2 separate regions of the Homo sapiens genome follow, and region 2 is linked to region 1. The links are contacts of gene promoters, found by promoter capture Hi-C in human tissues and cell types (Jung and others, 2019). All regions are on one chromosome and are shown on one strand. Each heading gives the region's core, a stretch centred on a gene start or on the middle of the fragment in contact. The rest is flanking DNA. Distances are from core to core; before and after follow the strand shown. Region 1 holds the start of CSMD2 (CUB and Sushi multiple domains 2). Region 2 overlaps CSMD2 (CUB and Sushi multiple domains 2).

Region 1 (5,317 bases), core at 1,020-3,519:
CACAAGGCCCCCTCCCCGCAACTTCTCTACTGAGCAAGGAGCTGCGAGCAAATGGATCTCTATAGGGCAGGATTCCAGCACCGCTGAGCGGTGCAAGCGCCGGTGAGTCGGCCTTTTTCTCTCCCCTAGGGGCAGGATATGCCCAAGGGGCAGGGACAAATCTAGCCAGAAAAACAATTCAGTCCGATGCCGAGACATTCTCCAATCAGCTAAGCCAGAGACCGGCCTCGCCTCAACGTACGTCCGGGAGGCCTGGCGGGAGGTAGCAGCGATTCCCCCACCGCCCATGTGGCAAGTCTGGGTGACCAGCAGCGTCGGTATGCACAGCCTCCCAGTGGGTGTGGGTGTGCGAGAGGCCAGAGCTCCCAGGCGCGCGCACCGCGGGCGCCCCTCTCTGGGTGTCGGTGGCTATGACTCTTAGCAGAACCTAAGAAAGTCCCGTCAGCTAGGAATGAGAGAGCCAGAGCTGGCTCGGGGCGCCCTCCCTGACCAAGAACCCCAACATGCCGCGGTTAAGCGGTGGGCGACACGGTCTGCGAGGACAGACTCACAAGACGCTGAAGGCCAGAGTGGGCCAGAGAGCTCGCCACTCACTGACCTGCCAGAGGAGAGGCGCACTTTCCCAAGAAGGGGAACTGGGGTGGTCCAGGCCAAGCCTTCAGAGGTTCAATCGGTGGTTTCAAAACAAAACAAAACAAAACAAAAACAAAAACAAAAAAGAAAACACGGCTCCAGGTCGAAGGTGCCCTAGGTCTAGGCCTGGCCAGCAGGTGTTTCGGTTTCTCCCCCAGTGGGTGTCAGCCTCGCGGGCTAAATGAAAATGCGGTTCCAGGCATCCCGGTTTGGACCCGTCTCCACCCGGGCACACGGAACTTTCTAGCTTGTAGCTAGAACTGAGCTTCGGAGGGGTGCTGTGGGTAAAGCGGGAGGGCACCAGTCGCGGCCAGTAGCCTCCACAGGGGACCGGGTTCCCTCGAAGGTTCGCGTACCTCCCCCGCGCGCTGCAAGCTGCAGCCAGACACCCGCGAAGTTCCGGGACTCTCCGCACCCGCTAGATCTGCCCCTTCCCGGACTCGGTCGTCGGGAGCTGGTCCCGCCGCCCGCGCCGCCGCTGCCGCTGCCGCAGCCGAGGCGCTCGGCTGCAGCAGGGCGCGGGAAAGGGCACTTTGGCGCGGAGTGAGCACCGAGGGGAATGTGGCAGCGCGAAGCCTGGCGGCGGCACTCCCTCCCCCGCCTCGGGCTACAACCCCCACCCCCTCCTTCCCATCCCTCAACACCCTCCAGCCCCCACCTGCACCCTCCTGCAAGGAATGCGCGGGACCCCCACCGTGGGCACGCGTCCACCTGAACCCCCTCCTAGCTCCGAGCGCCGAGGGAGGGGTAGCATTTGAGGAGGGGGATGGCGGCCGCAGTCTGCAGTCGGTTCCAGAGGGGGCACCGGTTTCAATTGGAGAAAATGGGCGGGGGCAGGGAAGGGCAGACCTTGCAGACGCAGAAATGGGGAGGGGGCGCACGGTTCCTCTCCAGCCCCCAGGACCAGCGTGCCTGGCAGAATCAGGAGCCGGGGGAGTAGGGCTCCCGGAAAGTTTATCGGGAAAAAGCCTAGCACCGTGGGGGCTGGGAGGCTGGAGAAACTGAAGCCACAGACCAGGTGCCCCGCAACCCCGGGCGGGGATGTCTGTCTCCCAGGCCCCCACACCGGCCGCATCCGTCCAAGTTGCGGCTGGGGTTGGGGCAGCAGTGAGGGTGAGGGTGGAGGTGAGGACGTGGCTGAGGGTGGGGTGGGAGACGGAGGCAGGGATGAGAATGAGAGTAGGCAACTGGGAGGGTGGGAGATTCAGGCAGGGATAGAGGCGGGGGGAGGGACTGGGACCGGGTCGAGGATGGGTGGGCTCGGGGCTCGGGTGGGGCGCGCGGCGGCCGCTGGCTCCTCGGCGCGGCTGGACTCACCCGCGGCGGCCGAGACGCTGAGCAACCCACAGCCCAGCAACAGCAGCAGAGGCGGCGGCGTTGGCGGCGGCGGGCGGCCCCAGCGGCTCCCGGCGCCCGGCACAAGCGCCGAAATCCCGGTTTCGCCGCGAGCCCTCCCCGCGGGGCAGCCGCAGCGCCCCAGCTCCCGTCCCCGCGAGCGCGGCATGGCGCGGCCGGCAGCGCCGAGGGAGAGGCTCCGCTCGCCGCCGAGGAGAAAGGAGGTCAGGAGAGCTCTGGAGCTTTTTTCTGCTCGGAAAAAATCCCGGTACGCGGGAGCCCTGAGCTTCTGCGGCTGGAATGAACCAAGTGTCCGCCCGGCCGGGGAGAGGCGCGCTGCGCTCTCGGAAATGACTCGCTCCAATCCCGCTTCGCGGGGTTCGCGCCGGGGGGCGGGAGGGGGTGAATTATCCCCGGATTAATCACTCCGGAGCCGCTTCTCCGCCGCTCCAAATGCTGGGGGTGGAGGCGCAGCTAAGGATAAAATATTGGGGGGCGGGGGTTCCTCTTCAGCGCCACCTCCACCTCCAGATAAACCACAAATTACATCTAAAGGGTTGTTTATCCGTGTCTGTTTTGCAATTGACCAGTTTCTTTTAAGTTCAGTCCTCCTGTTTTCATTTATAACATCACCCATTAATACACCCCCCTCTCCACACACACACACACAAACACACACACACACACACAGTGACAGAGACACACGCACTCACACACACAGGCACATACACGCACACCTCTTCCACGTTTGGAAATTGGAATCCTGTCTGGGAAAAGGTAACCAAAGAAGGACGCGTTCCCCAAGTCTTGGCTCTTACCAGCTGATCTTGGGTGGTGGCTTTGAACTTGCCATCTAGGGCCGGGGGCGATGCTTATGAGCCTCATTCACAATAGCCTCCTACCCCATCCCAGGAGAGGGGCGTGTGTGCGTAGACAGAGGCAGGGTTAAGAATTGGAGGGCGGTGGAGGGGGGTTGTGTGTGGGGTGGGGAGGGGGGGGAACCGGTTCATTTGACCCAGTGCGGTCCCACTCCTACCCTAAGACAAAAATCTCAGGGTGGCAGAGGCGGTCCCTGTGTGCACGCGAGTTGGGGGTGGGGAGTGAGGTTGGTGGAAGGACGGTGCAAGAGTTACTAGTACAATTTATCCCCAAATTTAAATAATCGGATCCTACTTCTTCTTCTCCCCTTCCTCCTCCCAGCCAAGGCCCCAAACCAAGAGAGTTCTTCCCAAGGACGTGAGCTGCTCCCCACCTCTCCCCAGTAGCGGCTGCCTCTAGGCCCCAAGGGCTTAGTGTCGGTCCCCACCCCATCCCCCACCCGACTCGGTCGCCGTCTCTGTCTCGTCTACTCCAGGCTTCTCCGCCAGTCACGATGGCTCCTTCGCTGTCTACGCCAAACTCTCGGCGAGAGGGAAGAGACGCTTCATGGGGGGAGGCTGGAGGAAACTGGGAGGGGCAAGGTCCAGAGAGGAGGCTTCTGCTGGCGCGTGCAGTGGAAAGGCACCTGCGATGGGCACCCCCGCCCCCTTTGCCGACACACCCCAGAGAAGCTGTGCTCCGGGCTTAGGGCAGCCTGATTTGGCCAAAACGGAGCGTTGGCATCTGTGTGGCCAAGGGGGCAGTGGCCGGCGGGCGGTGGGGCCTGAGAATTTCCGGGGAAGGGTGTGGAGAGGGACTGTAGGGATGGCGAGCCAGGCTGGGGGTGGCTGGCGACCCAGGTTGGCCGGCTGTCAGCGTGGCCAGGAATTTCCATCCAAGGAAGGGTGTGAAGAGGGGCTGTGGAGTTGACGATATGAATTGGGGGGCGGGGGCAGGGCTGGAGGAGTGGAGGCTTGTCCCTACTCCCCATGAAAAACTTCCTCCCCAGAGCCACGCTTTCGCAGCCTCCTAGATGCCACTCTTCCTCCCTCCCCCCACCCCAAGTTGTTCCGGTTTCCCTGCATGAGCTCATCCCACAGCTGGGGAGCCAGCCCGGTGGCCCTGGGCGGGCGAATCTCCTCAGAATCGCGGGCCTGGTCCCCACCCCCAACACGCTTGTATGCCCGCCCCTCCCGACGCCGCCTTGCTGGGTGCCAAGAACCAACCGAAGCAGCCAGAACTCCTCAGTGAAAGGCCTGCTTTATGTTCCCGGGGCAGTGAGGAGGGGGCTTCTCCCTTCCCATTGTCCAGACTCAGCCCCCGAAAGAGAGGGCTCAGCCTTCCCACCAGCCCTGGAGAGGAGGAAGGGACTGACTACGCCAGCAGTGAGTGGTGGTGGTGGCCTTGGGGGCTGTTAGCTGGGCTTGCCTGGGGGTGGGCTCCTGGCTTCTAAGCTCCGACTTTACCCCTCTCTTGGAGGCGGGGTTCTCCTCCAGAGAAAGGAACTGGCAGAGATGCCCAGGCCTCCTGTGCAGCCCACAGCTGGGCAGAAGAGAGTCTGGGCTGCTCTGTAATTCTGGGGCTGCAGGCCAATGGGCTTTCTCTTACCCTCTTCTCAGCTCCAGAACTTTGCTCTGTGGCTGCAACGGGCAGATGAGATTTACCCCCAGAACTTTCCCGGGCAAAAGGAGCGTTTGTCATCCTTCTCCCTGGGGGCTGTGGAGGGCAGGGCACCTATTTTATCCCTGCAAAAGGCCCAGTTACTCACATCCTCCGCCATTCCTGCTCTCTGATCTATTTGGGTCCACGTGCTTTCACTGAGCGCCTCCTGTGCTCGGGGGCCCTGAGCGAGGCTGTGCTCTGGGCCCTGCAGAGATGCACAGTGTGTGGTCCTGCTTTGGGAGGATGCAGGCCAGAGGTGGAAACCCACACGTAACTGATACCGTCAGACAGCGATAATCACCATGACTGAAGAACCGGCATGCTACCGAGAGGCATGTCAAGACAGTGAGCTTTTCCTGGACTTGGGGGATCAGAAGGCTAATTTAAGAAGGAAAGTAGGATTTGGTCTGGAACCTGAGACATGGATAAAGACCTTGAAAAGATGAAGATTCATTTACTCAACAAATATTTATTGAGCATCATTATGTGCCTGGGTGCTGTGCTAGACAATGAATATACACCTAGTGCACAGTCCCTGACTTGATGAAGGCAGAAAATATGTATACAAATACACATAAAGTTACTAATTAAGGATGCTACAAAAGGAAAGTTTATGGTGCTAGGAGAAACAATATGGGGATGTGCTTTAAGGAGATGGTCTGAGAAGGCCTCTCTGAGATGGCAACGGTGGAAGATGGGATCTAAAATTAAGCAAGATGCTCAGGAGGCTAAAGCCAGAGGATCATTTGAGCCCAGCTGTTCAAGGCTGCAGTGAGCCATGATCACACCACTGCACTCCAGCCTGGGTGACAGAGCCAGACTATCTGTC
Region 2 (5,031 bases), core at 244-2,743, 290 kb before region 1:
CTGTGGGTGTGACTGTGGGCCTTTGGTTAAGACTTCAGAAAGATCAAAAGATCATGGTATTATTCAGTCATACAAAGGCCCTTTAAAGAGATTAGGGTAGGCCTCATAGATCCTCCAGATCAAACAATAGGGACTCTAGGAAGCCAAGGGGCTGTCCCTTGGCCATCTTTTCAAGAGGCTCAGGTTGAAAAGTTTAGTTCTCAAAGAAATTTGTGGGTTTGTTTTTTTGTGTAATAGAGGGAATCTCAGTGCAATTTACAGAAGACCCAGAAGGTTTCTGAGAAAACCTATGAGAAGAAACACAGCTGGGACAGAAAGGAACAGAGACAGTACAAAATAAAATGAGGCCATTGGACCCCTAAAATTCTCAGCAGGAAACAGGCTGAGAAAACAAGTCAGCTTTAAACACAGGTTTCCTTTCATGAAAAAGGAAGGATTACTCAGAGGGAAGAACCAAGAGCTTAGAAGGTGGAGCTAAGAGTCATGGAGAATTATCCCCAGGCTTTGAAACCTAACCAAGAAACTTGCAGTCTTTTCCTGGCTGGATTTCAAAATTGTTACGGACCAGTGACGCCTTTGTTCCTCACATTTTCCTCCCTTTGAGTAGCAGTGTTTATAGCCATTCCTCTATACCTAACCTGCCATTGTATGTTGGGCATATGGGGGGCAGATAATTTATCTCCTTAGCTTTTCAAATCACCAAATCTGTAGTAACAGTATTCTAGAACTTGTACTTAAGGAATTATACCCAAGAGCCTCATCCACACCTGCACCTGATTTAGATGATGAGATCCTGGACTTTCAGTTGGTGCTCCCACGGGAGGAGATGTTAGAGACCTTGGGAAGGATGATTGCATTTTGTGTGTGGAAGGGACATGTATTCTGCATGTGGAAGGGACAAGAATCATTGGAGAGCCAGAGGGTAGATTGTGATAGGCAGCTTCAGAAATGACTCTAAATTTCTTTCTCTTCTGGTATTCATGTCCTTGTGCAGTCCCCTCCCTTTGTGTGTGGGCTGGACCTAGTGATTTGCTTCTAAAGAATAGAATACAGAAAAAGTGATAGAATGTCACTTCTCATATCAGGTTATAAAAGACTGTCACTTCTGTCTTATCCTCTCTCTCTGGCTCTACTCTCTGGCTTGCTCTGATGAAGCAGCTGGGTTGAAAGCTTCCCTTTGGAGAAGAACTGAGGGCTGTCTCTGGTCAATAGCACTGAGGAACTGAATCCAGCAAACAATTATGTGAAGAAACTTGGAAGCTTGTCCTCCCCTCTAGTTGAGCTTTGAGATGACTGCCGCCCTAGTGGACACCTTGATTGAAGCCTTATGAGAAACCCTAAGCCAGAGAACCCAATTAAGCTACGCTTACATTCCTAACACAGAGAAAATATGAGCTAATAAATGTTGTTTCAAACCACTAAGCTTTGGAGTAATATGTGACACAGCAACAGACACCTAACGCACCTGCCCTAAGGTCGGGCTACACTGCATTTTCCCCAGAAACATTACACTCTCTCCTCCCCAGGGCCTTTGCACATACTTCTCATCTCTCCTACCTTTTAGGTCTGGTAGACTTCAACCTGTTCTACAGACTTAGGTCAGGTATCCCTTCCTCTAGGAAGCTGTCTTTGATGCTCCAACTCCCTTGTGTGTTCCCATAATAGCTTATGTAAGTTCATACAATGCCATCCCAATGCACAGCACATTATAGCAACTGTTTGTCCCCTCAACTGGTAGAGAAGGGAAGGGATCTTGCCTTATTCATCACAGTGCTCTAAAATTTAACACAATGCGTCACATGGAGTAGAATGATAATAGCACACTTTTATTGAATGCCTACATCATACCTGGTAAGAAATAATTCATTGCAGGATTTGGGCTTGTGTTAGATGATTTGGGTACTGTTTGAAGCCATTTAATGCAATTATTTTACTTAAGAAAAACATTCAATGAGAGCGGTACTTTAAACACCCCATTTTACAGACAACTTGAACAGCAGGTTAGGTGCTCAGTTCATGTTTGATGGAAAATGAACAATTGAATCATGAGAAGCATGTTTTTTCTTCTGTCCTGTGTCTCCCTTCTCTCAAGAACTCTTTGCAAATACCAGAGTATTTGTATTTTGTGTGTGGAAGGGACATGTATTTTGCATGTGGGCCAGAAGGCCTCCTGGGCATCTGGACATCCACTTTGTGCTTGACTGGTCATGTTACCTAGCTTGGTATTTCCAGATAAGTACCTGGATCTATCCCTGGGTGTCTCAAAGGGAGGGCTTGGTTAGCACCCAGAGAGTTTGATGGGCACCAGAAACCACACCTCCAGCTCTTCGCCCACAGCTGTGCCTCTGGCTCCCAGACAGAATCAGCATTTTCCTCTCCCCACACTCTGTCATTATAAACCACGTAAATTCCTCGATACCCATGTTACAACGAACAGATGCGGCTCTGTATTTTTAATGTATTATCTCTAATTAGCAGCAGTGGGCATGGAAGAACTCTGTGGTCCCTGGGGCTGTCCCTCACTGATGCAGCTGCGAGTACATTTGTGATGAAGAATCTGGCCAGGCTCCTCTGGCCCGCACAGCCCTGGCAAGTGGGTGAGGGAACTTCCATGTGCAAAGTATCTACTCTGCCAGGAAGTGGGAAAGGGCCGCCAAGGCCTGATCATCAGTCCACTGCTCATCTAGCCCCCACTCCCACCCCTCTATGCTGTCTAAATACCCTGAGAGGATGTCCTTCATTGGGATCCCAGAGACAGGGCAGACAACAGCCTCCAATGTCATGGGCAAAACAGATTTTTCTAGGTTTGAGGTCTGCAGTGTGAAGATCTGTGAAATGCAAAAAGAGAATGCTTCAGTGCCCAGGGCAAACATAAGGGGCGGGGGAACTGCATGGACTTCAGAAAAGAAGGGGGCTGGTTAGTGAGAGCAAATGTATGCTCCTTAGCTCTGTCCAAAGAGGAAGGGTATTTCTTATAATAAATGTCATGCTCATGACTGACATGTTTTGGGCGTTTACTATGGACTAAGCCCTATTTCTAAGTGTTCTCCAGATATCATCACGTATAATTCTAGAGGCAGTGTCAGCCCCCGGCCAATGACCACCATGGACCTCCCTGTAGTTGAACAAAGTTGGGTTTGCTGACTGGTGGCAGTGAGGGAGAATGCACACCACAGGGAGCTGTGCAGTGTCTCAGTAAGAAGGTAAGAAATAATTCACTGTAGGATTCGGGCTTGTGTTAGTTAATTGGGGGAGGGTTCAAGGAAGCAGAGCTTTGCCCTGGATTGGAGACTGGAGGTAGGTGTAATTCTCTGGTTGGGTACTTCATAAATTTTATTTACAAGGCAGGAGGAATGAAGGAAGATAAGAGTTGTAATTGGTAAAGAAGCAGCCATCACTCACATCAGCCAAGAGGTGGAGGGAGGGGGGCTGTTAAGTCATCTTTGTATTTTGAATAATGTTCTTGTTTTTGTCTGAATTCATGATGTTGAAATGGTCTTGTTTTTGTCTTCATCTATCAGGGTCCTAGAGTGGTTTTGTCCGGCATTGACATTCAGTGAAATTGTTTATGGTCAACAGGAGAACCCCAAGGTCTAGGTGTAGGTGCCAGGCCAGCTCTCGGCAGCAAAAGGCCTTACTGATAGTGCCAGGCCAGCTTGCAGCCATCAGGGGCTGCTGTTCTCCTTCTCAGCAGGCCCTGTTACTATGCCAGTTTACAGAAATAAAGAAATTGAGGCAAAGACAGATTGCCTGGTCTTAGTTGTCTCACAGCTGGGAAGCAGCAGAGATTCCAGAGTCCCTGAAAGTCAAGTGAGCATCAAGAGACAACAGAGGGAACTAAAGGGGAGAGTTTGTAATTACGGGAAGCCAGCCTGACCATGAGGGGAACTGGTCAAGAGATAGAACACAGGATTTGTAGTCAGAGATCTCTACCTTGGGAATCTGTCATTGCTACTTACTAGCCATGTGGCCCTGGGCAATTTGTCGAACATGAGAAATTCACTTTATTCTTATGTATAATGGCAACACCAAAAGCTGTTTCTCAGGGTCATATGGGAATAGAATGAGAAGACATGGCATAAAGAACTTACGTACCACTTGGGACACAGATGCTGCCCTGAGTATTTACTGAACGCCAGGCACTGTTCTAAGTCCCTCGCATGTATTTACTCATCTATTACAGCAACCCTTTATAACCTGTGGCTTGCAGGTGAGAAGATGGAGACACAGAGAGGTTAGGCGACTTGCTTGAGGTCACACAGCTATCAAGTAGCAGAACTCAGGCATCCTGGCTGCAGCACCCACACTCTACCATGTGTCATAGTAGCTGTGGGGTCATTGCTCCTTGTCCACTCTAAGTGCTCCAGATCATGAGCTTCAAGACCCTAGTCTTATTCTGATGGTGATTTAATGCCCTGGAACTCTCAAGGCCCCAGACTTTTGCTTGTGAATGGGTCTAAGCTGCTTGCTTGGCTCTGGTCCGGAGAGCATTCATTTCCTTTTAGAAGGTCAAAACATTCTTGGCATGACAGATAATATAGATTCAGGTTGCTGCAGTCTATAGATCAAATAAAACATAGTATTGCCTTATTAGTATTTCTACACCTTTCAGTAAGTAGTAGAGTCAGAGAAAACCCTGAAAAATGAGTATAAACTAAAGAGGGTAGGAGAATGACTCAATGCTGCAGCACAAGCCCTCTTTTGGCAAGATCGATGTGTGGGCAGAAGGCAAATGGCTGCTGAGAGGAAATGGGCCACACCTGGCTGGTCTTATTCTATCCTGTAATGGCAGAAAGCTGTTCAGGATGGCTATGGCGCACAGCCCAGGGCTGACTCAGCATTGCCTCTTCCTAACCTGTTGAGTGGGTTTATAGATTGTGTCACAAGTTCTGGGAAAATGAGAGGTCAGGATTCCTGGGCCCAATGGCTCGTTAACAGAGGTCCTGTGTGCCATCACCCCCTCCAGTCCTTGTCCCACTGGACTTGTCCCCCTTGTCGCACTGGGGGAGATGAGGGCCTGGAACTCACAGC

Evidence for each region. The method cuts DNA at HindIII sites, captures the fragments that hold promoters and counts their contacts. A contact is called where the count stands out against the background at its distance.
Region 2: a fragment that was not itself captured here is called in contact with the fragment with the promoter of CSMD2 in region 1 in 1 of the 25 tissues and cell types used here (dorsolateral prefrontal cortex).

What each region holds. Positions count from the first base shown.
Region 1 is chr1:34,162,961-34,168,277 of GRCh38, forward strand. It overlaps CSMD2 (CUB and Sushi multiple domains 2), which reads right to left and starts at 2,270. Exons shown (of 71, transcript NM_001281956.2): 1 at 1,951-2,270. The coding sequence starts at 2,137. It also overlaps a transcript of C1orf94 not described here. RefSeq lists enhancers at 171-300, 721-780. The HindIII fragment of the contact is 8,389 bases long and covers 1-5,317 here.
Region 2 is chr1:33,872,390-33,877,420 of GRCh38, forward strand. All of the region lies in intron 5 of CSMD2 (CUB and Sushi multiple domains 2), which reads right to left. It overlaps CSMD2-AS1 (CSMD2 antisense RNA 1), which reads left to right. Exons shown (of 8, transcript NR_038372.1): 4 at 3,077-3,203. Among named protein-coding and RNA genes, the nearest start is that of CSMD2-AS1, 5.9 kb to the left of the region's middle. The HindIII fragment of the contact is 6,085 bases long and covers 1-4,536 here.